5 separate regions of the Homo sapiens genome follow, and regions 2, 3, 4 and 5 are each linked to region 1. The links are contacts of gene promoters, found by promoter capture Hi-C in human tissues and cell types (Jung and others, 2019). All regions are on one chromosome and are shown on one strand. Each heading gives the region's core, a stretch centred on a gene start or on the middle of the fragment in contact. The rest is flanking DNA. Distances are from core to core; before and after follow the strand shown.

Evidence for each region. The method cuts DNA at HindIII sites, captures the fragments that hold promoters and counts their contacts. A contact is called where the count stands out against the background at its distance.
Region 2: a contact is called between a fragment that was not itself captured here and the fragment with the promoter of CHST11 in region 1, in 6 of the 25 tissues and cell types used here (H1 embryonic stem cells, IMR-90 fibroblasts, dorsolateral prefrontal cortex and 3 more).
Region 3: a contact is called between a fragment that was not itself captured here and the fragment with the promoter of CHST11 in region 1, in 3 of the 25 tissues and cell types used here (H1 embryonic stem cells, aorta and spleen).
Region 4: a fragment that was not itself captured here is called in contact with the fragment with the promoter of CHST11 in region 1 in 4 of the 25 tissues and cell types used here (IMR-90 fibroblasts, liver, neural progenitor cells and 1 more).
Region 5: a contact is called between a fragment that was not itself captured here and the fragment with the promoter of CHST11 in region 1, in 1 of the 25 tissues and cell types used here (aorta).

What each region holds. Positions count from the first base shown.
Region 1 is chr12:104,454,379-104,459,427 of GRCh38, forward strand. CHST11 (carbohydrate sulfotransferase 11) reads left to right here and starts at 2,570. Exons shown (of 3, transcript NM_018413.6): 1 at 2,570-3,151. The coding sequence starts at 3,034. RefSeq lists enhancers at 2,239-2,288, 2,309-2,388, 3,309-3,358 and silencers at 2,459-2,588, 2,669-2,838, 2,879-3,158, 3,749-3,888, 4,049-4,108. The HindIII fragment of the contact is 13,105 bases long and covers 1-3,281 here.
Region 2 is chr12:104,831,141-104,835,625 of GRCh38, forward strand. All of the region lies in intron 10 of SLC41A2 (solute carrier family 41 member 2), which reads right to left. Among named protein-coding and RNA genes, the nearest start is that of SLC41A2, 120 kb to the right of the region's middle. The HindIII fragment of the contact is 4,985 bases long and covers 1-4,449 here.
Region 3 is chr12:104,902,421-104,907,068 of GRCh38, forward strand. The region is part of intron 3 of SLC41A2 (solute carrier family 41 member 2); the gene reads right to left. Among named protein-coding and RNA genes, the nearest start is that of SLC41A2, 54 kb to the right of the region's middle. The HindIII fragment of the contact is 5,831 bases long and covers 432-4,648 here.
Region 4 is chr12:104,730,764-104,735,541 of GRCh38, forward strand. All of the region lies in intron 2 of CHST11 (carbohydrate sulfotransferase 11), which reads left to right. Among named protein-coding and RNA genes, the nearest start is that of MIR3922, 140 kb to the left of the region's middle. The HindIII fragment of the contact is 7,646 bases long and covers 1-4,778 here.
Region 5 is chr12:104,856,808-104,861,812 of GRCh38, forward strand. It overlaps SLC41A2 (solute carrier family 41 member 2), which reads right to left. Exons shown (of 11, transcript NM_001352171.3): 8 at 4,484-4,563. Among named protein-coding and RNA genes, the nearest start is that of SLC41A2, 99 kb to the right of the region's middle. The HindIII fragment of the contact is 5,592 bases long and covers 27-5,005 here.

The DNA of each region.
Region 1 (5,049 bases), core at 1,320-3,819:
CGACAGAGTGAGACTCCGTCTCAAAAACAAAACAAAACAAAACAAAACAAAAATGCAGGCCCCAGTTTCACTTGCATGTTGTTGAATTTGGAGAGTCAATCAATCAAGCCAGGTCCCACAATGAGCACAATGCCAATCTGCAGAATCTTTCAGGGCAAAAGGGAATTTAGAAAGATGAGGGAGAAAGGATCTGAAGACTGATCCGTTCCTCTTTCAATGTTCAAAGTATAAAATTTTTCTCCTCAGTTTTATCAGTTAATACTGTCCTTTACTTGGCTAATATTTATTATATAGCATAAGATGTAACAAAATTTTCTTAGGCTAGGAATGGAAAGAAAGCAATGATTCTAACTGTAGTTGGGCAGTTTAGAGTGTGATGAAGGAGAAAACAGAATTTTTTCATCACCCCTCAATGTGCATAGAACAACAGAATCACAGACCATTACCACTGACCTTTGTCATAGATTTTAGAGGTGATCTAATCTAACTTCCTAGTCCAAGTAGGCATTACCTCTCTGCCTCTGACTTATTTGTACCTACTATGTACCAGTCATTGTGCTGGGCATTAGAAAGAGACAGAGATGAAGACAACTTGGATCTCCAGGAAGGAGTTCAGCCTAGTGGGTACAGTGGCCCAAAAGAGGTTTGGACCTAGTGCTCACAGCGCAGAGGAGGAAAGTTGCAATTTCAGGTGAGAAAACAGCAAAGACTTCTTGGGAGAGGTGGTAGCTTATGTGTCACAGCCTTAATCCTCACTGTGTTTGGGCAGGTTCCTGATTGTGGGAATGCAAGAATGGATGTTGGGCATGATTCACCATCCTCCCCCACCATGTGGGCCAACTCCATGATCTCTGTGACTCACAGGGAATTGGACTTCTGATCTCTTCCTTGACCCTGTGACTTCCCAAACTGCCTTGTGCATGTCCAGGCTTTGGGGCAGGTAACTGAAGTCTTTGGCCTATGAGGTGAGAGGTCACTTGGGTGACCTGGGAGTAAATCCCTTCCCCTCCCTGGCTCTGTAAAGCCAAGTGTTAAATGAGAGACTTATATTCCAGGCAAAGGCTTTGTGCAAATGCCCATCTAAGCCATGCCCTCTGCAAGGAATCCCCTTTCTTAGTGATGATGGTGGGGAGGTGGGGAGGGTGCAGTGCAACTCCCATTCCTGATCTCCTATCACCAGAGCAGAAGAATCACTGGAGAACGACTCTGTCTGAAGCTTGTTCAGCCTGGCTTCCTTGAGCAAGCAACTTATTCACAGGTAAGTCCAAATTAATACAGCGCACACCGGCTACATAAATATTGTGCTTTGATTGTCTTCTGTAATCAAAGGCAAGGCTGCTGAGTTTGTTACTTTCCCCACCATGCAACTGCTGGAGGAGAACTCTGGGGGAAGGGAACTGAGGTTGCCCAGGTGGTTTTTGTTGCATGTGTCTAACTGCAAGTTGTGTCTCTGTCTATCGAGGGGAGGATAAGGCCCATTACATTCAGATTCAATAAGAATTTATCAAATGCCTATTTTGTGAGAGGCATTGAAAGACACAGTATCTTATTTCATTTTTAATTGAATTAGTAATGACTTGATAAGGCACAAAGGTTAGTCTAACTAACATTTTTTTTTTCCCTGACATACGAGTGATCCCTACACTATTGGCTGTGTCCACTTTATTGATTGTGAAACAGCCTAAATGCATGGAATTGGAAACTGGAAGTCATTCTACACAATACAAGAAAGCAGCACCATCTTTCCATGTACCTGCCAGTGCTATGGCTGGCTTGGCTTTTCCAGCAGTTTTCTGGACTTGGTTGAGGTGGCTTCCTAGGGGCATTTTCTCACCCCCTCCCAGCTAAGACTGCTGTTAATTTTGAATAATTTGGAGGATGCTCTACCCTTTGGGGTAGCAGAGTTTTGCAACCCACAGATCCCTTTTGCCTTGAGGAATGGTGGTGATGGTGGGTGTCAGAGATTCTGTCTGTATAAGTCCCCGGGAAAGCTCAGCTGTCGCCTGACCCGAGGGTCGTGCAGTTTCCTTAACCCTGACTTTAAGTCAGCCCTCTTTAACCCCGACTCCCAAGCTGGGCTGTCCTTTGAAAGAAAAACGAAACCGCCCAGTTCTGAGCGTCGGAAAATGGGCACTCGCTCCCTGGGGGTTTGGGGCAACTTCCCCGCTACGTCGCCCAGGGATTTTAAATAATTGCCAGCCACCAGAAACCCCCTAACCCTTAATTCTTCCCTCCGAGACCCAGCCCGCTGCTTGCCACTTCCCTCTCCAAACGCTGGCGGGGGTGGGTGGCAGCACCGAGGCGATTTTCTTCGTCTTTTTTTCCTCCGGGTTTTGTCATGGAAACGCTGACACAACCTCCAGACGGCGGCCGAGCCCGGCCGGGGACTGAGGGCTTTTGGGACCCTGCGGGAGCGCGGCGCGCACACCGCACTCCCCGGGCAACAGCTGGACGCGACCATATCCCGGGTAGGGGCGGGGGGAGCGCGACGCTCCGCCCCGGCGCTAGGGTCCCTCCCTCCTCCCGGCTCTCCGCAGGCGCCCTCCCCTCGCCGGGGGCCGCGAGTTGCATTTGGTAAAACCCAGCCCCGGAATATATAGATCGTTGGAGCGCAATGAAGTAGCCTTTGGAGAGAAGGGAGAGGGCCCGTCGGACAGCCACAGCGGCCAGCGCAGCGGCAGCGGCGGCGGCACCACCATCACCGCTCGCACCCCAGCCGCCCGGCCCGCGACCAGGCAGCGGCGGCCGCCGGCGGGATCGGAGGAGGCGGCGGAGCGGCGAGGAGGAGGAGCAGGAGCGCGCAGCCAGCGGGTCCACGCATCTCAGCACTTCCAGACCAACTCCGGCACCTTCCACACCCCTGCCCGGGCTGGGGGCTCCGAGAGCGGCCGCGAAGCGACTCCGATCCTCCCTCTGAGCCTTGCTCAGCTCTGCCCCGCGCCTCCCGGGCTCCGGTCCGCGCGGCGGGGTCCCTGCTCCTGCGCCCCGGGCGCGCTTCCCGGACACCCCGGTCCCCGCAGCCAGGACAAAGCCATGAAGCCAGCGCTGCTGGAAGTGATGAGGATGAACAGAATCTGCCGGATGGTGCTGGCCACTTGCTTGGGATCCTTTATCCTGGTCATCTTCTATTTCCAAAGTATGTTGCACCCAGGTAGGGGGCGCGTTAGCGTGGTTTTGTTGGATATTTTCTTCTCTCTCGCGCTCTAGCTCGCTCCGCCTGATTTCTGCCTCTTCCAACCCTACCTCTCCGCCTTCGGCCTCTTCGGGGCTCCTGGCTGCCCAGAGCTCCTGGCTGCCCAGATCTACCCGGGTCACCGCGTCGGGATGGGGAGGAGAAGGGAAGGTGTGCTTCGCCCTCTTCTTCCTACCGGCTCCGGGCTGGAGGATGGGACCAGGAGGGGCGGTAGTTTTTTTTTTTTTTTTTTTCTTCTTCTTTTTTTCTTTGTGTCCCTTGTCTGTCTGTCTGCGAGGTAGCAGGGAAACGGAGAGGTGTGGGAAGCAACCGGGGGTGAGGGGCTGGTTTGAGGAGAACGAAACTCCCTCCCTGCTGCTGCCGAGGTCGGAGGATGAAAGAGTTACCCGGAGCCGGCTGCTCTGCGCCCGGGCGAGCCGCCTCTTCCTGGTTGCCGGGCCGGGGGCGAAGGGTGTACGCCCCGGCGAGGTTGCGAGTCCCTGCAGCAGGCTGGGAGCCCGGGACTGGGCTCCCACGTGTCCCGGGCTCCGCGCAGAGCTGAGCAGGTGTGGAGAGTGGTCGGGTGCCCAGCGTTGCCCCTCCACCACGCGCCGGCCGTTTGCCCCCGGGGTCCGGCTCCGCAGTGACCTTGCGGCTGGTGCCCCGGGGCCTGCTCCAGCCCCCAGCCCTGAGCTGGAAACTCCGAGCTCCTGGGTCACGCCTTGACCACTGCAGTTTTGGAGGAAACTTTGGCCAGGTCCTGGGCTGACCGTCCGTTTGCATCCCCCACTTCTGGGATCCGAGCAACGGGAATCCCCCGGGCGGCGTGGGAATGAACCCCATTCCTCCGGTCCCTTGTGGCTCAGGCAAAGTTCCACGTCCGAAATCTGGACTGGGGGAGGGACGAGGCTCGTCGCTTCCTAGGGGTGCGAGGGAAAGTTTGGGTTCTGGAGAGGGAGGGGCGCCCTCGAGCGCGGCGGCCGGGGGTGAGCAGCTCGGCTGCGAAGCCCAACAGGTAGAACGTTCCGAGAAGCCTTCCGGGTAACGCGGGTCTCCCCGCCAAGCCGTGGCTCCCCTGCTCCCTTTTACCCTCCCTTAGCAGCCCCCTGCCGGGCCACGTTGGCTCAGAAATCCATTTTCTACGCCTCCGAGTTGCCTTTCTCAGCGTAGTCACAGCAATAATTTGCTTTTCTAATTGCAAGGAGGAGGGAGGTGGAAACGCATTTCCTTCCAGGGAAGTGGGGTTGGTGTTTTTCATTTTTGCCTCCCGCCTTCTCCTTTCACTGTGTATCTAACACTTTAAACAGACGCAGTCCCGAATTCATCAAGCCTGCGTTTGGGTCGATGGCAGAGGAATAAAGCTGTTCTTTCCATCAAACAGGCAGGGCTGCAGGCTGCAGATTCCTTGACAGCGCAGGGACAGACGGCCCCTTTGCCCCACTCGGTCTGGAGCAGTTGTTAAGGCAGCCACACTGCCAAGGATATGGTCCGACTCTACCACATGTAACCTCAGGACGTCCGAGCCAGCCCTGTTAAAGATGGCTTTTGTTTGCAGCTGGGTATTTTTAGTTTAATGTCAGCAAACTACAGCGGTGTTTGTCTCCTCACCCAAACCTGCGGTTGTGAAACTTATAAAGGAATTTAAAAATGGACCTGGCTTGCATTCCGGCAGGCAGGCCTTGGTTGCAGTGGGCAGGGCCAGACAGCCAGGGGTATCTCAGAGTGCCAAGCTCCAGGGCCCACCGGAGACCGGGCCAGACTCACCCCAGAGCGCCAGGGGACTGGTGGTGTACAGATACACTCGGGTTCAAACAGTTTAAACAAGGGGCCGGTGATTTGGTCTAGACTCTAGAGCTGTGTTCAGGTTTCGCTGGGAC
Region 2 (4,485 bases), core at 707-3,206, 380 kb after region 1:
GCAATCTGTCTGCCTCAGCCTCCTAAAATGCTGAGATTACAGGCATGAGCCACCACACTCAGCCTATTTACTTTCGATCATAAAATTAAAATCTCTTTCTCTCTCTCTCTCTCTGTAGAGACTGGGTCTCCCCATGTCTTAAAAATAAAATGTCTTAAACTCCAAGCCTCAGGCGATTCTCCCACCTCAGTCTCCAAAAATGTTGGGATTACAGGCATGAGCCACCATGACCTGCCAAACGTAAAGTTTAACATTCTAAACTGGCCATGATGTTAAAATACCCACAGTCATGCTCCAAATAATGACATTTCTGTTAACAATGGACCACATAGATGATGGTGGTTCTGTAAGATTATAATACCATATTTTTACTGCACTGTTTCTAAGTTTAGATATTGTATCCCCATTGTTAAGCAACATATCACTGTAGTTGTTCATAGAATATTTTATTACACTTGTTGAGAATGTAATTTTACATTTAAAAAATATACCTTCAAATTGTTTATGGGTGTATGTTTAATCTCTCCAACTGATATGTTACCTCTTTCAGATAGAGAACCTTGTCAGGTGCTTCCCTATTACCCATACAAAATACACTCAATATATCTAATTTAATGAATACTTATTTATATCTAACATAGAAAACAGTGTGATGAGATTCCTGAAGCATTCAAAGAATAAGACATAGTTATTGCTTTCAATGGGATATCAGAATCGAAATGAAGAAACATAACTGAAATGCCTAAAATAATTCACAAATAATAAAAAACAATATTCATTTTATAAATATTTACTGTGCCAGGCAGAGGGTTGGGTGCTGAAACTTCAGTGATGAATAAAACAGAATCCCTGCATGAGCCTGAACTGGCCACATCCTCTGCTATCCTCTGGAAAAATGAAAGAGACTTTGGCAGAGCTAAAAAGTAACAACTCATCAGAGAACATAAACTGAGGTTCTTCAGCATACCTTCAGAAGCAGATGATCCATGGGAATTGACTATTAACCCAAGATTCTCAGAACAAAGAGTTGACTACACAAAGCAGACAGATTCCACCCATGACCATTAGAACAAACTTTTTCTATGTCACACTCTCCTTTCCATTCCTGTCTTTACGGATTATCTCTCTTGTACAATTCCTGGCTCTTTCTTCCTATGTAGGAATTAGTTTCTTTAATGCCAATCCAGGAAAAGATTAATTGTTATGCAGAGTTATTAAGCCAATTCAAGGATATGACTCCCCAGTACCCTTGGATGGATTATGTCTCATTAGAGTCCTTTCTGGGAAAACAATAACTAGTGGAACAAATGCCTAAAAATATCAACCCCATCAACAGGACAGTCAATTGGACAATTTGAACTGACAATTCAAAATTGTCCATGAAGATTTACCTCTCACTTTGGCTGATACAGTAAATAACACAGTCCAAGCCCTGGGGGAACAATTTAATTTCCTTAACTCAAATAGTTATAGTTAACTGTTATAGCTATAGATAATACAATGGTGTTGTATTTTCTCTTGGCCAACCTAAACCATTGCTAACACTTCACGCTATACCTGAACTAACATTACAGATGAAATGAAGCAACTTATATCTAAGCTAAAAAGAAAAAAAAAAGGCAGTCAAGCTACCTAGAGAAACATACAGACTTGTTTTCTTGGTCAGGCCTCAAAAATCTTATGTCTTGGTACTGAAGTGCCTTCTTGTCCCTTCTTAAAATATTTCTTGTTATTCTTGTTTGTCTTACAGTCACTTAATGCTTATTGTCCGGTCTCAAATGCTTTTGCACAGCTATTGTCCCAGCAGATGGTTCAACAAATGATTCAAAGATAAAAAGAATATGAAATCATGCTGATTGACACTTAAACTGAAAAGAGTTCTCTACACTGAAATCTCATCTTTAGGGAGAATCAACAACAGAGTTGAATGTCTGGATAATTCTTAATTATTTCTCCTGAGTGAAGAGCAAAAGTGAGAACTAAGAATAAATAAGTTTCTACACTCATTGGAAAAGACTGATTGTTCTTTAGCCACAGTAACGAGTAGCCACCACAACTGGTTTTAAATTCATTCAATCAATAAACTTGCCTCATTGAACATGCTTTAGAAGCTAGCCAATCAATGATAGTCCTTGTTCCTGAAGTAGCCAATTAGGAACTAATCAATTCCATTAAATGTATCCCTAGGGGCCAACCAAACAATGGTCATACCCAAGTAATCATACTTCTACAGATGACATTAGTCCAAATATGCTTTTGAACATTTGCCAGTTCCTGAAGCCATGCTTCTCTAAAACCCTACAGAAGATCAATAGTTGGCTCTGCTTGTGCCTGATCCCAGTATAACTCCATTACAATAGTAAGTAAAAATTCAGCTTTGTCTTTTTATTTCAGTTACTGAGTGACGGTCTCACCATCCTTTGATACCCTTTAAGCTTCCCTTTTAATAAATGCAAAAATCTTTGGAAACTTTTTGCTTTAATACATTTCCCTAGATAGTACAAAAATATAATTTAATTACCTTTGTTACACTGAACTAATACAAATGTTTAGCTTTCAAATTAAAAAGTGGTATTGTGCTAATATCTATTCTTAAAAATAGCTAAACATTTTCAATTATAGAATCATTCAGGTCAGTGTTTTGTTGTTTTTTTTTTGTGGGGGGTGAATATTCTAGGGTCACAAATCAACCTAGATTTTATTCTGGCAAATTTCCTGAGTAATTATTTTTACACTTTTCAATTATGTGGTTTCACTCAGTTATAAGATTTTTTTTGTAGATGATGTGAAAATTCCTCTAAATCATATCTGCAATGTCAGCAGGATTCAGAGCACAGGAAGCAATGTCCTAAGCAGAATACTTGAGAAAAGATGGTTGAGCTTCCCTGGTTCTACCTTCACCTTTATCAGGCTTTACAAGACCGAAAAGAGCTCTTTCCCAATGCCTCACCTCACAGGAATCAAGCATGCTGTGCCTCCAATAAAGCAGACAGTCATTTCATCTTCTGTGCATCACTGGCCTGGAGCCCAAGCATACCTATCTAAAGAATTAACCATAAATATGGATTTAGAAAGGTGTCTCAATTTGAGACCTTACAACCTAAGCTATAATAGCATAATCACACATAACAAAAATGCAATCACGAGGCTGTTAAAAAATAATCTCAAAAATTCACCTGCTTTAACTTCCTATCTTAAGGTAAGCATATTGATCAACTCCAAAAGTTAAAGGAGCTGTTTTTACAGCTAGAAAAAAAATTCTAGGAACTATAGGCCCTCCCTTCATATCTCCTTTATCATTCTCTTTATACTTCTCCTTCAACCCAAGCTGACAGACAGAGAAACCAATTAAGAGACAGAGGCAGAACAGTCACATAGACAAAATAAAGAGCTCCTACTTTCAGTTAGAATCTGGTAGAATTAAATCCTGAGGAGTGAGAAGAAATATGAAGATTAAGTAACCTGTTTAAATCTCCTGGTTGCTTAGGTTTTTCCTTTGAGATGCCATCTGGGAACAGGGTTTGAGTTAGCATCATGATTTAAAAAAAAAAAAAGACATAACTACATCATTTAATGAGGGCCTACTATGTGTCAAGTATTTAAATATTATAACTGCTGTGCAAAAAGGAAGCCTTATCATTTTATATGCAAAGAAAATAAGACTCCAAGGAATAAAGTAACTTGCCTGAGGCCAAGCTAATTAACTTGCTCAGCTACTGGGTAGTTATCCTGGGATTCCAATTATAGTCATGTTGTTACCATATGGCTACATTCTTCCTTATCTAGAAAAGTGACTCCAAGGAATGGAGTAAGGTATCAGAATCAAGGTAGAGACTCTTAATGCTGGTTTCATAGGTTCTGATTGCTCCACTGCCACCCTAAGAGAGTCACTGTCCCAGTAATCCATAGCTATTGATGATGATGATGTTGATATTAAAAAATAAGACAATAATGATGAAAATAATAGCACCTTAAATGCATCATTTCATCCTTATAACAACCCACAAGGTTGGTCTAGTCTTAGCCCCTTTATACAGGTGGGAAACAGTGCCTGAGCAGTGACTGCCTAGCTGATGCAGGTATTTGATGGTGGAAGCCAGAGCCCAAGCCCTATAAATTATCTCACACTGCATCAGAGGAATGTGTCAGATCTCTCAAGTTTGTTGGGAGTGGAAAATAGTTGAAAATCACCACTCTATAGAATAAACTAAACTCTTTATCATCTGTTCTTTAAGCTCCTTGATGATCTTGCTACAACCTATAATTTCTAACCTTATTTTTCATCACTCCTTTTAACTCCAGGAAATTTCTGGCTGTTTTCCATAAATACCCTGAGTTTTTCTCATTTGCCTAATGCTACTCCTTTTAGCTGAAACGGCATTTTCTATGGATTCCAACAAAGCAAATTGTTATCCACTATAAAACTTCCTCCCCACATAGAAAAACCTCTCCCACTATTGAACTTCCATAGCAGTTTGTCCTTCT
Region 3 (4,648 bases), core at 2,097-4,596, 450 kb after region 1:
AAAGAGTATAGCTGGAAATAAGAGAAACTAATGAGTTTAGTTTAGAATGTATTGAGTGGTATCCAAAAGGCAACTGAAAATTCAGCTCTCAAAGTCAGGAAAGAGTCTGGAGGTACAGATCTGAGAACAGCAATGTGCAAGCAGTGCTGGACTACACGAAATTACTGAGGAAGAACATGTTGAACAAGGTACTAAAATTTCAAGAAAACCTCAAATTTAGAGGATGAGCAAAGAAAAACAAAAGACATAGACTAACAAGCAGCGGTGAAAGACGTGGGAGAATGAGAAGACAGTGGGGTCTCAAAGCCAAGGGCTATAAAGTTTTCAACTAGAAAATAATCAGTGAAGAGTCCAGAGAAGATGAGGCTTTCAGATTTTGCCATCAAGAAGTCATTAACTTAGAGTTTCTTAACAGCCCGTAGAGTATCAGAACTGAAATAAACCCAAAACTTCTCTAGCATTCTGTAAGAACTATAGTTTTCTACCCAGCAAACTTGAGATCTAGTTCTCTAAGCAATAAAAATGCCGTAAACTAGAAGAATATACCATGTTATCATAACTTGGCACTACAAGTTGCTACTTTCCCATCTACTAATTTGCTTGCTTTTACTCCTCTCAGATCCAGAAAGAATTTTTAGTGATGGCTCCTAGTGTTTAATTTCAGTTAATCCATCAATCAATTCTGTTGATTCTCTCTGAAAATTAATTCTGGACTCCAACCACCTCTCACTGCATTCCCTGTTACCATCTTGAATATTATCTCTAAGCTATTATTGCAACAGACTCCCTGCTTCAATCCTTAGCCCCCTATACCCATATCTCAATGCAGTAGTCAAAATAATCTGTTAAAAAATATCTATCAGATCACATTAACTCCTCTGTTTAAAACCTTCCATTGGTTTCTTATCTCACAAACTAGGCAAATCCGTACATAATCTGGCCTCTGGCTCATCCCCTAAAATTGTCCCCCCTCACTCACTCGGTCCCAGCCCTATTGGCCTCCATGCTCTTTATCTAACACAGTGGTTTTCAAACTTCAATGTGTATCAGAATCATCTGGAGAGTGTGTTAAAATTTAGATTGCTGAGCCACACCACTGGAGTTTCTAATTTAGTAGTTTTGGAGTGGGGCTGAGAATTTGTATTTCTAACAAGTTGCTGATGCTGCTGATCAGAAGAGCACACTTTGAGAACTACTGATCTAACATACCAACAACAGTCCTGCCTCTGGCCCTTTGCATTGCCTAGGGCATTCCTATCACAAATGGCCTCAACACTTCTTATTTACGTTTTCTTATTTCCTTATAATGTTTTCTTATTTCCTTGACTGAACTATCTTCTTATCAGTAGCACAGCTCTCAACCAATGGAAGCTGGCAGCTCTACCCCTACCTCTCTAAAGAAATACTAAGTTAGATCACCCTGCAGCAGAGTAGAGACCACAGATGGCAAGCTTCTCCCCTGTGCTGGGCTTGTAATCAGCTCCTGAGACTCCTTCTCTTAAATATGGACACATACATATAACCAGACATTTGAGAAAAATACCTAGTGTAAAATATAGACACCACAACAAATTAACGAAGGTTAAAAAAAGATTAAATTCACCTTCATTCAGGTTTAACGGTAGTATGTGATCAAATTAAACAGCAAATATCATTTGCAGCATTTTGTTTTTTAACCAGATTCCCTACAGCATGGCCTATTTCAAAACAGACTGGTGTTTTAAATCTATTATTATTCTGGATAATGCTCAAGAACAATACTTTTGAAATATTTTCTTTGAGATAAGCTAGCCAAAACTTCACTTTTCCTGCCAAAGTTATCAAGTTGCTTAAATTCTTGTATGCTTAACTATGTTTATCAGAGCAAAGTTCAATTTCCAACAAATGAAACTAAAGGCACCTTTTAACTCCCATTCAAATAACTTTCTTCTTCAAATGTTGCCACTTTTGTTTCTCAAGGCCTCTTCATTCTCTTCTCCCGCCAAAAAGCCTCTCGGATTGAGTTCTATCTACCTAGGTAATTCACCAGTTCTTATAACATAATACAAGTAGGAAAAGATGAAACACATGCATATAATTTCACTAATTCTCAAAATCTCAGTAAGACTGTGTCTGGAATTGGTGGGTTCTTGGTCTCACTGACTTCAAGAATGAAGCCGCGGACCCTCGCAGTGAGTGTTACAGCTCTTAAAGTGGCGCGTCTGGAGTCTGTCCCTTCTGATGTTCAGATGTGTTCGGAGTTTCTTCCTTCTGGTGGGTTCGTGGTCTCGCTGGCTCAGGAGTGAAGCTGCAGACCTTCGCGATGAGTGTTAACAGCTCTTAAGGCATCGCGTCTGGAGTTGTTCGTTCCTCCTGGTGGGCTCGTGGTCTCGCTGGGCTCAGGAGTGAAGCTGCAGATCTTCGCGGTGAGTGTTACAGCTCATAAAAGCAGCGTGGACCCAAAGAGTGAGCAGTAGCAAGATTTATTGCAAAGAACAAAAGACCAAAGCTTCCACACTGTGGAAGGGGACCCAAGCGGGTTACCAATGCTGGCTCGGGTAGCCTGCTTTTATTCTCTTATCTGGCCCCACCCACAACCTGCTGATTGGTAGAGCCGAGTGGCCTGTTTTGTCAGGGCACTGATTGGTGCGTTTACAATCCCTGAGCTAGATACAAAGGTTCTCCACGTCCCCATCAGATTAGTTAGATACAGAGTTTCCACACACAGGTTCTCCAAGGCCCCACCAGAGCAGCTAGATACAGAGTGTCGATTGGTGCACTCACAAACCTTGAGCTAAACACAGGGTGCTGATTGGTGTGTTTACAAACCTTGAGCTAGATACAGAATGCCAATTGGTGTATTTACAATCCTTGAGCTAGACATAAAGGTTCTCCACGTCCTCACCAGAGCAGCTAGATACGGAGTGTCGATTGGTGCACTCCCAAACCTTGAGCTAAACACAGGGTGCTGATTGGTGTATTTACAATCCCTGAGCTAGATATAAAGACTCTCCACGTCCCCACCAGACTCAGGAGCCCAGCTGGCTTCACCTAGTGGATCCCGCACCGGGGCTGCAGGTGGAGCTGCCTGCCAGTCCTGCACCCTGTGCTCGCATTCCTCAGCCCTTGGATGGTCGATGGGACTGGGCGCCGTGGAGCAGGGGGTGGCGCTCATCGGGGAGGCTCGGGCCGCACAGGAGCCCATGGAGTGGGTGGGAGGCTCAGGCATGGCAGGCTGCAGGTCCTGAGCCCTGCCCCGTGGGAAGGCAGCTAAGGCCCGGCGAGAAATCGAGCGCAGCGCCGGTGGGCCAGCATTGCTGGGGGACTCAGTACACCCTCCGCAGCCACTGGCCCGGGTGCTAAGTCCCCCATTGCCCGGGGACAGCAGGGCTGGCTGGCTGCTCCGAGTGCGGGGCCCACCAAGCCCACGCCCACCCGGAACTCCAGCTGGCCCGCAAGCGCCGCACACAGCCCCGGTTCCCGCTCGTGCCTCTCCCTCCACATCTCCCTGCAAGCTGAGGGAGTGGGCTCCGGCCTTGGCCAGCCCAGAAAGGGGCTCCCACAGTGCAGTGGGGGGACTGAAGGGCTCCTCTAATGCCACCAAAGTGGGAGCCCAGGCAGGGGAGGTGCCGAGAGCAAGCGAGGGCTCTGAGGACTGCCAGCACGCTGTCACCTCTCAAGACTACATAAAAGTTTTTTTGTTTTTTCTTCTTAAAGATAAAAGCTAGAGATATACTTGACACACATTGCAGCTGTATGCCAAATGGTCAAGTGTTGAAATCAACATTCAGCTGACACCAAATGTCACCATTATATAAGGAAATACTGGGATACAGGAACCAATATAAATCTTAGACTATATGCTCCAGATACCTGAGACCAAGGTATCTCAAGTTAGTGTTCCTGAAGGCAGACCATGCCACCATTAGGTGCCAATGAACCCCAGGAACGCCAAGGGGTGGGTGTTTGTTGGAGGTGTAGATGGAGCTTGGACATGGGGCCTGGTGTATGTGTGAGGTCTTTCAAAATGCAGTACCTATTACCAAAGGTGGGAAGGGAATTGGGGCAGGCCTCAGACCAGGGGGTGGCTCAGTGGCTCTCTCTACAACACCATGTTCCAAAACAGAACCCAAGAAGTCCAAAAATTCTAAATCTGATCTTGGACTTCCAGGTATTCCTAAGGATATATTTGTCAAGGTACACAGAAAGAGAAAATATTTAAGTGTGTAAGTTTGTTGTATAATTTTAAACTATGTAGACATATGTTATATAGGTCTCCATTTGTATTGCTACCCCAAGCCTAGCTGTTAAATGCTTAAAAAGCATTTAAAATGCTTTTAACGACGAACGCATTTAACATGCTTAAAAAGCATGTTAAAAGCCCAGCTGTCTAGAATGCTTATAAATATTTGACATTGTTACATTTATTAAATACAATAGTAACCTGGATTGATTTTTCCTCAGATTCCGATATGGCTGACTCACCTTTACTACTCAGGTTCCAGCTTACATATACCTCCTCAGAGAAGTCTTTCCTGACCACGTTGTGTAAAATAGCCCTCAGGAATCATCCATCATCACATTATCCTGTTTGATTTTCTTTACTTCCCTTACCGATATCCAAATTTATGCAAATTCCATCACAGCAGAGACCTTGCCTGCCTTGTTA
Region 4 (4,778 bases), core at 2,151-4,650, 280 kb after region 1:
CTGCTCGTCCACACTGTTCATCTCTAGGAGTGGCCAGGTTGAATCCAAGGCCAACTTGGAGTGGACGGAAGGTGCAGCAGTTTCCCAGAAGGGCTCTACAAGGCTCCTGGGTTGCAGCTGCCAGAAAAGTCTGTTCCCCACAGCTCCCTGGTCCCAGCTGTGAGGTAGTTAACTGCAGCTGCCTCAATGTCAAAGCCAGGGAGAGGATGCCCATCTTACCTTCTGCCCTGGACTGCTGCAGCTGTCCTGCATCCTGAACATTTGCTGTCCGTGCTCCACTTACGAGCTGTCTTCCTCAGGCCAGTCCTGGCTGCCAGCTCCATTTCATCTTGTTTATCTGTGTGCCTTGACATTGGCTGTCTCCTGCATCCTTCCAAGCCAGAGAACCCAAATTGACCAGAACCCTCATCGGAGGGCTAACTTACTGTACACGACATGGCTTAGAGGCATGGAGGGTGAATGTATCTATCACCCAGACACGGCTGCCCCCGCCCTGGAAAACAAGGGCAGCCCGAACAGGGACACTCCCACCAGCAAACTAAACAGGCAGTTCAATCCGTAAGCAAACCAAAGCCGAAAGAAGTACACCAAAGAGATGTCATCCTCCTCCAGCCTGTGCAGCGAGGTGGCTGTCTATGCTGCTGAGACCTAAGAGAGTAAGTCCTGCTTGGGCTGGAAGTATGAAAACAGACCTGAAAGGCTTCTCCCGGTTTTATTTTGGGGGGATCAGAAGGAGAAGAGGGGAGAACCTGGTATCCCTGTTCTGAAAATGGGCTCGAGGGCTGTGGCTCTAAGGCCACATTTTGTAATAGGAGAGTAAGCAAACTGGGTGTAAACCCCCGCACCCCTGAGACTCGGGACCACGGACTCAGCCTCTGCGGGCCTCAGCGTTTCCATCTGTAAATTGGAGCTGAGCATGTCCACCTCTCAGGGTTGAAAGGATTCGGGGTATAATGTGTCCAGTTTCCAGCACCAAGTAAAGGTTTCCTATTTTTAGTTCCCTTCCTTCCCTGGCATAATGTCCATCCGTGTCATGATTCCAAAATGTAGTTTTGCACCAACGCAACTGCGGCCTCCTTCAAGGTGCATTTGTTTACTAAATACTGTTTAATCCCCAACGTACTGGGCATTGGGAATAGAGCTGTGAATGAGACAGATGAGCCTGCCCCAGGGGCTGGCAGCCCAGCAGATTGGCCTTTGGTGGCATTTTGGGGGAATCAGCAGTGATGGCAGAAAGTCCACCCCAACATCCTCCCCTCTGTCCTAGGGCAGGAGAAACTGCAACCAGCTCCACAGCTATGCTCGGTCCCTCCAGGGAAGAGGATTGCGCTGCTGGTGGTCAGTTTTATTTGGGTACACCTCAGCATCAGTGGCTCAGAAGCAGGAGGTGGCAGGTTATGGCCATGCCCTGTGGTGGCTGGGCCCCCTGGGGTTCGTGAGCTTTGCTGGCATGGACCTGGCTGTGCCAGGAGCCTGTCCTTCTGTTCGCCTATGTGCCATAAGCCAGACCCCAGCAAGGCTTCTCCCAAAGACGTGGGTGCCTCAGAAAGATGAAAGCAGTGATCCCTATTTCCCTAAGGGCCTCCCCAGCCTTTGACAGGGTCCTGGCAGAAAAGCTAGACTCAGTGGCTGGTTTTCGTAAGTTTTGACCCCAGGGACATTTATAGATGGCCTGAAAACTAAATCAATGGATTTTACTTACTTTTTAAAAATTCACCTTTCATCACATTAGAAATAGACCTTCTTGCCCTATCTCTGAGTCTCCTCACGTCTCTTCTCCCTTCCCCAACCCACCCTCTAAGGGTCTAAGGGTGAAGTAACAGGCGGGAGTGCCTGTCATGCACAGCACTAGGTAATAAAACACCTTTTGGGGCTTAGCCACCAAATGTCCCTCCTGTCCAAGTGTCCATATCCAAACCTGAGCTCAGTCAGGTATCCGATTGGTGTTGCTGTCACCGGGGCATTTGCCACACCCAGGTGCTCACATCATCTATTGATACCCCCAGTCTCCAGATTCTTTTTGGCATCCTCCTCCCCAGCTTCCTAATCACTGATGAGACCAGATGGCAAAACAAATGGGGACTGATTTTGCAGTGACATCGGAATTGGAAGCTTTCTTTCTGGAACTAAGTATTAAGTATTTTTTTTAAGCACTTATTTCCTTACATGTAGTTCACAAAGAGGGCGTCAGCCCTGTGCTTTGAACTTGACATGCATCGTCTCACTTAATCTTTGCTCCACACCCTTGTGTAGTAGGTATGACCAGCCCTATGAGAGATGGGGAAACTGAGGCCCAGACCAGTGAGGTGATGTGTGCAAGGTCACGCACTGGGATTCCACCCATGCACCTTGTCTCCAGGGTGTGTCCTCTTCCCACAATGCTGTTCTGCCACCGGGTTCTTTAACTGGAAGATGATGTAGATAAGACATATCTTGAATGTAGCTGTGGAGGGCATGAGGCCAGACTGTTTTTGCTAGATGCAAAATCTGGAGTCTAGCTTTCCAGATCCCACAGGGAAAAGACCTCAGAGTAGATCCAAGATTTCCCCATGGCATGGAAGAAAGAGGAAAGGGGACATTTATAAGGCCTTTGTGGGAGGCAGTAACACTGACTGTGGGTATCAGGAAAGGGCCTTGCCTGATTCTGGGGGCACCTTTAAACCCAGCAAGTTCCCCCGTGTTCAACCCTCCCTCCCAGGGCTGCATGATGGAACCCTTGAACCAGGATCAGTTGTTGGGAGTCGCAGCCAACACTTTGACACACACTGTGTTTCAGGCAGTCTTCTGAATGCTTTGCATATTCTGTGAGGTTGGTACTTCCATTAGGTGGGTGCAAAAGTAATTGTAGTTCTTGTCATCAAAAGTAATGGTAAAACTGCAATTACTTTTGCGCCAACCTAATACTATCCCTACCTTATAGATAAGGAAGTTAAGGCACAGAGAGGTGAAGTAACTTGCCTAAGATCACACATCATTAAGTAGGTGGCAGAACCAGATTCAACCCAGGGAGATTGGTTGGCTGCACTGATCTTATCTATACTGCCTCTGAGGAGGGGAACCCTGCTTTTGACGTTGTAAGGTAGGAGGAGTTGGGTGATGGGTCTGGTTTCTTTGAAAAGCCAGCGGGGGGCGCTTTGAGCCTTCTGATGATGCCATGATGGCTGCCATGCCCCCATGGCCCAGCCCTGGCAAAAGTGTGTGCCTGTGGGGGCTGCCCAGGAATGTGGGCTTATGCCTCCTCCCCGCCACCACCAGCAATCTCTGTAGCTTTTGGCTGGGCACTGCTCCTCCAAAGAAGGCAGCAGGGCTTCCCCTGCCAGGAGGGCCAGCTTCCGCCAGCAGAGCTGCTTATTGAGAGGTACCTGGTCAGCACTGGCGCCAGAGGGGCACAGGGAGGTGTTTGCTCAGGCCCAGCCCATGCTTCTCTGCAGAAGTGGACGTGCTTTTCTGTTTATTTTTCTTATTTAAAAATTTTAAATCCAACTATCTTGAAATAGTTGGAGGTACAGAGCTGCTTGAGGAAAATTCAGCCCCAAAATTCATCAGAAAGATGGTTGGCCTCAGGATCACAGGGGCACGATCCCTCCTGAAGGACCAGCAGTTCCGGGCCCTGTGTAGGCACAAGATGAATGTCATTCATTTAAATCTCACCCCGGGCCCGTTGTATAGTTGCAGAAACTGGGGCTCAGAGAGGTCAGCTTGCCCAAGGCTGTGCTGCTAACAAGGGCAGGGCTGGACCTTAAGATCCGGACCCAAATGCCTGCTGTTTCTCCCGCCCCTAGTTCTGAATACGGTCACAGGTGGAAAACGGGGTGGCCTGTGATATTCCAGTCCCATGTTTCTTACTTTGCCATGGGGAGGAATGAGGACCTGGGGTTATTGCCCTGTAGTTCATTCCACCCTTCACCCCATGGGATACCCAGTCAGCCACCAACAGCCTTTCCTGGTAGGCACTCAGGGAAGTGCCCCAGGGTGAGGAGGATTTGTGAGAACTGGCGCTCTGCCTCCTGGGAGCTTTATGGCAAAGTAACAGCAAGAGAACACAGACAAAAGACAGATAATATGGAGATCCAGAGGAGGAGGGTTTGGGATGCTTAGACAAGGGTGGGGCCTGCGTTTATCTGATAAATAACACAGTGATTCTGTATCATCATCGTGTTGTTTACGTGAACCCTGCCAGGCACCACATGCCCTCATCAGGGCAAACTGCAAAATTGCCAGGTTTGCTTCTGTTCTGCAAACATTTTTTGAGCTCCTGCTCTGGGGGCAGGCATGGTGCTCAACACAGGGGATTCCAGGATGAGCAAGGCAACAGTCCTGAACTTCAGGGAGCAGAGGTAGGGATCTATGGGTAAACAGACAGTTACAGTATGTTGTGAGAAGAGAGTAAGCTCCAGAGTCCAGTTACCTGGGTTCAAATCCTGGCTGCACCACCGGCTAGCTTTGTGACTTAAATGACCACCTCTCTGGGTTTCAGTTGCCTCATCTATAAAATGGAAATATAATACGTCTCTACCTTGTAGGAGTGATAGAAGGACTAAATGTGATTACACAAGAGCTTAGGACGATGCTTGGCACCTGGCACTCAAAATATATTAGCTCTTCTGGTGGTGCTGGTGGCTGTGCTGTGAATGATAACAGCAATAATGGTAAAAATAATAATACCACGTTCTATAAGAGAGATGAGCCTAGATCACTGGCGGAGCACCAGGAAAAGGGGATACCTGACTGATCCAAGCCTGGTGGTGGGGCTGGGTCATCCGAGACATCATCTTAGA
Region 5 (5,005 bases), core at 1,573-4,072, 400 kb after region 1:
GGGAGAGACATGCCTAAAGACTCTATTTTCTCTGTAAGCCTGCCCTACAACAAACATTAAAGGAATTTCTCCAGGCAGAAGGAAAATAATACCAGATAAAAACCTGGATCTACACAAAGGAAAGAGTGCTGGAAATATAACTTTATATGATAAAATCTAAAAGATATATTTTTCATTTTTAGTCTCTTTTTAAAAATAACTGAAGCAAAAAATAATAACAATATATTACAGGATTTACTATTTCAAAAAAGTAAAACGTATTTCAAAAAAGAGTACATAAGTAAAACGTATTTCAAAAAAGAGTACATAAGAAAGAGGAGTGGTATTTCAAGTATAGTGACATAAGCTTCTTATCCTATATGTAAAGTGGTTTACTATTGTTTGAAAGTAGACTGTGATAAAAAAGATATAAGCTCTAAATCAATGGTTCTCAAAGTGTGGTCTAGGGGGTCTGAGGAAGGTTAGATCTAGAAATCCCAACACCTAGCTAACAGAAGTACCAGAAAGAGAGACTCACGTTTATGTTAGCATGATAAAGGCTTTAAGAAATCCCGTAGTAGGATGTGGAGAAATAGGAACATGTTTACACTGCTGGTGGGACTGTAAACTAGTTCAACCATTGTGGAAGACAGTGTGGCAATTCCTCAAGGATCTAGAACTAGAAATACCATTTGACCCAGCCATCCCATTACTGGGTATACACCCAAAGGATTATAAATCATGCTGCTATAAAGACACATGCACATGTATGTTTATTGAGGCACTATTCACAATAGCAAAGACTTGGAACCAACCCAAATTTGTCCATCAATGATAGACTGAATTAAGAAAATGTGGCACATATACACCATGGAATACTATGCAGCCATAAAAAAGGATGAGTTCATGTCCTTTGTAGGGACATGGATGAAGCTGGAAACCATCATTCTCAGCAAACTATCGCAAGGACAGAAAACCAAACACCGCATGTTCTCACTCATAGGAATTGAACAATGAGAACACTTGGACACAGGAAGGGGAACATCACACACCGAGGCCTGTTGTGGGGTGGGGGGAGGGGGGAGGGATAGCATTAGAAAATATACCTAATGTAAATGACGAGTTAATGGGTGCAGCACACCAATATGGCGCATGTATACATATGTAACAAACCTGCACGTTGTGCACATGTACCCTAGAACTTAAAGTATAATAAAAAGAAAATAAAAAAATAAAGAAGAATTAACACCAACAACAATAAAGAAATCTCGTAGTAAGCAAGTTTGTTTAACTTAATGTTTAACAAATTTGATTGACCACAGAACTCACTTTTCAAGTTATACTTATTAACATCTCACAGAACTAGTGTTACCATGAAATATATTTTGGAAAATGCCACTAGTTCTGAAAGACATTAATAAATATTAAAAAATATCCTAGTCACAATATGAACACAGATATGCCTTAAACAATGTATGCATTCTTGTAGCTAATAAAACATAAATTAGTAGCTGCATATTTTGAGAAAAAAAAAATCACAGGCTTTAGAATAGACCCGATCTGGTTTTCAATCGTGACTCACCACTTACAAGATAAGAGACCTTAGACAATCTACTGATCTTATTGTGAGGATTATACGACACAACATGTATAAAAAAAACCTGTAAGTTACCTGGTACATAGTGGTAGGTACTCACTAAATAGCAGATAATGATGATAATGATGAAGATAAACAAGAGTCCTTTAAATAGTACATTCCCCAACACATTTTAAATGAAATTCAATTCTCAAAAGTTCCATCTTATTTGAGGAGCATAGAGTAAACCATCTCTATTAATGTTTTTTAAAGAGTGGAATTTATAAGCTCATAGTGTACCACCATGCCCGGCTAATTTTTATAATTTTTGTGCAGACAGGGTTTGGTCGTGTTGCCCAGGCTGGTCTCAAACTTATGAGCTCAAGCGATCCACCTGCCTTGGCCTCCCAAAGTGCTGATAGCCAACTAAGAGGTTTACTTACTGAGATACTAAAAATATATTACTATGAATATCACACAATGCCACAGCACAGACATCCAAGGAGAGCATTTCAGTGAAGCTCTAGAATTGTTTCTTACTTAAGGTAAAACAACTGAAATATGCATTAAAGCCTTATAATAAAAGGGTTATTGTAATTTAAGTTAAATTTCTTACTGAAATGTTGTTTAATATAGCTCTAACAGTCATTATGAGTAATGTTTATGCTAATGAACTCATCCATTAATATTCACAGAAGAGGATCTGAAGAGGAGGGAGGAAAGCAGTAGTTATTCCAGGCAGTGAAAATTAGATGAATCTTTGTAGGGACAATATAAAAACCTAGTTAGAATGATAATGAAAAAATTGCGCATGTCTTTGGGAAACAATGAGTCCAACCATGTACAGAGGGCCTTGAAAGCTAGGCAGAAGAATTCAAATTTGATCTGATAGGCAGGGAAAAAAACCACTGTTAAATTCATCATCTTAGGACCCATGTAATAAAAACAATGTTTAAGAATGACTAGGCTATTAGTGACACTTAATTTGCCTCAAATAGAGAGTGAGTCAGGAAGCCTACTTTATTACTTGAATGATGGCTATATTGAGACATTAGGCTACAAGAGTAAGACATGCTTGTTATATAAATAAATGATTGAGCAAGTGAACTGTGTTAAAGGGCAAGCAGACAATGGCTTGGTCATTTTTCAGTCAAAGAGGATGAAGGACCAGGTTGAAATAGATGGTCCCACAATTTTATGTGTGGGTGACGGGGAGAATGGTGGCATGAAGAGAGAGACCTATAGGGAAAATTTGTTCATTGATATTCTAAAGTGATATAAAAATTAAAATATTCAGTAGAAATTTTAGACATGAAATTAGATTTTGAAGAACTTGCCTTTATATGTCATATATATTTTTTACATATATACATATATACATTTTTTTTGAGACAAGGTCTTGCTCTGTTGCCCAGGCTGGAGTGCAGTAGCGTGATCTTGGCTCACTGCAACCTCTGCCTCCCTCCCAGGCTCAGAAGGTCCTCTTGCTTCAGCCTCCCAAGTAGCTGGGACTACAGGCGTGTACCACCATGCCTGTAAAAATATAATTTTTATATTTTTTGTGCAGGCAGGGTTTGGTCATATTGCCCAGGCTGGTCTCAAACTCATGAGCTTGAACGATCCACTTGCCTTGGCCTCGCAAAGTACTGGGATTACAGGGATGAGCCACCGTGCCCAACTGACATATTTTCTTTTTACATAGATATGCAAAGTAAATTACATTAAATATGTAGTATATCCTGGGACATGTTTTTCCCCAAGTAGAATTACTTTTTAAATTATATTGATCTAGGCTGTACTTAAAATCTACTTTAGTGTTCAACAATGAGAACACATGGACACAGGGAGAACATCACACACCAGGGCCTGTCAGGTGGGGGGCAAGGGGAGGGAGAGCATTAGGACAAATAACTCATGCATGCGGGGCTTAAAAACTAGATGATGGGTTGATAGGTGCAGCAAACCACCATGGCAAATGTATACCTATGTAACAAACCTGCACGTTCTGCACATGTATCCCAGAACTTAAACTAAAAAAAAAAAAAAAAATCCACTTTAATGACAGTCACCCCAGAAGCCGGTAGACTGGATTAAAATGATCTTATTAAATGTAATTCATATATAAATGTCTGTGAATTTAAGTATTATAATTCCCATTTCATAGATAACAAAAAAATATACGACAGATTTTTAAAGGGATCAGCTGAGGACCAATAGATTTTTTTCTTTTATTTTTTTTTAAGACAGGGTCTCACTCTGTTTCCCAGGCTAGCATGCAGTGGCTTATTGTAGCCTCTAACTCCTGGGCTCAGGCAATCCTCCTGCCTCAGCCTCCTGAGGACATACCTGGGACTACAGGTGTGTGCCACCACATCTGGCTAATTTTTGAATTTTTTATAGAGATGGGGGTCTCACTATGTTGCCCTGGCCTCAAACCCCTAACCTCAAGCGACCCTCCTACCTAGGCCTCCCAAAGCACTGGGATTGCAGTCATGAGCCACTGTGCCCACCCCAGATTTTAATGAACTGAATGGATAAGCAATGTTGAAACCCAGCTGTCTCTAATTTATCCACAAAAATTGACAAAAGAAACAACAAAACAATATACAATAGCTGATAATCCCAATGTAAATAATAAACAAAATCTGAAATATATTTTGCCACATTAATCTTAAGTCAGGTATACCTGACTCTCAAACTAGTAGTTCATGATAAGATTAAGAAAGATTACTTTTCAGAAATGTATTCTGCCTGTTGAGACCTGGGAATGTAATTTTCACTGTGAGCAACAACTTGGGGTTGGAGGCAGAATGGTTGGGATGGGAGGACAGACCTCTTGAATCTGAGCCCTAAGACTTCTAATAGTACCTAAGACTAAGAGGATACGAAGATTTGATATTATCATGAAACAGTATATCTAATTCTTACCATTAATAACTGGCGTGTAAACAACAATCCCAACCAAGTTTGGGTCTGATACAGTTGTGTCCAGAATAAGGCCCCCAATGCTGAAAGAGATAAAATTATATAATTTAGAGAAGAGGGAAGAGAACATACTTGAAGTTATTCTGTACATACAGACACCCCTCCTTTTTAAAATAAAATATTCACACATTTTAAAAATAGAGCAAAAATAAAAATATTCAAAGTAAAAATCAATGTCAACAGTAAAATGTTGAAAATAAAACACGGCATAAGCTCTAGCCCCAAATTTCAGAATTCTGATGTCTAAGATATGCTACTTGTGAAAAGAAAAAGCATACGCTTTAAATGCATTAAAATGTCTTGAACAGTATACGAGAAATTATTAACCATGTCTATTTCTGGGGGTGAGGGTGACAGGGGACTGACGGTCATTTTATATCCTTCTGTGCTTATTAATTTTTTAAAACCATGCCATTGATCACTCTTATAATTTAAAAAATAATTTAAAAAAGAGTATGGTTTCAT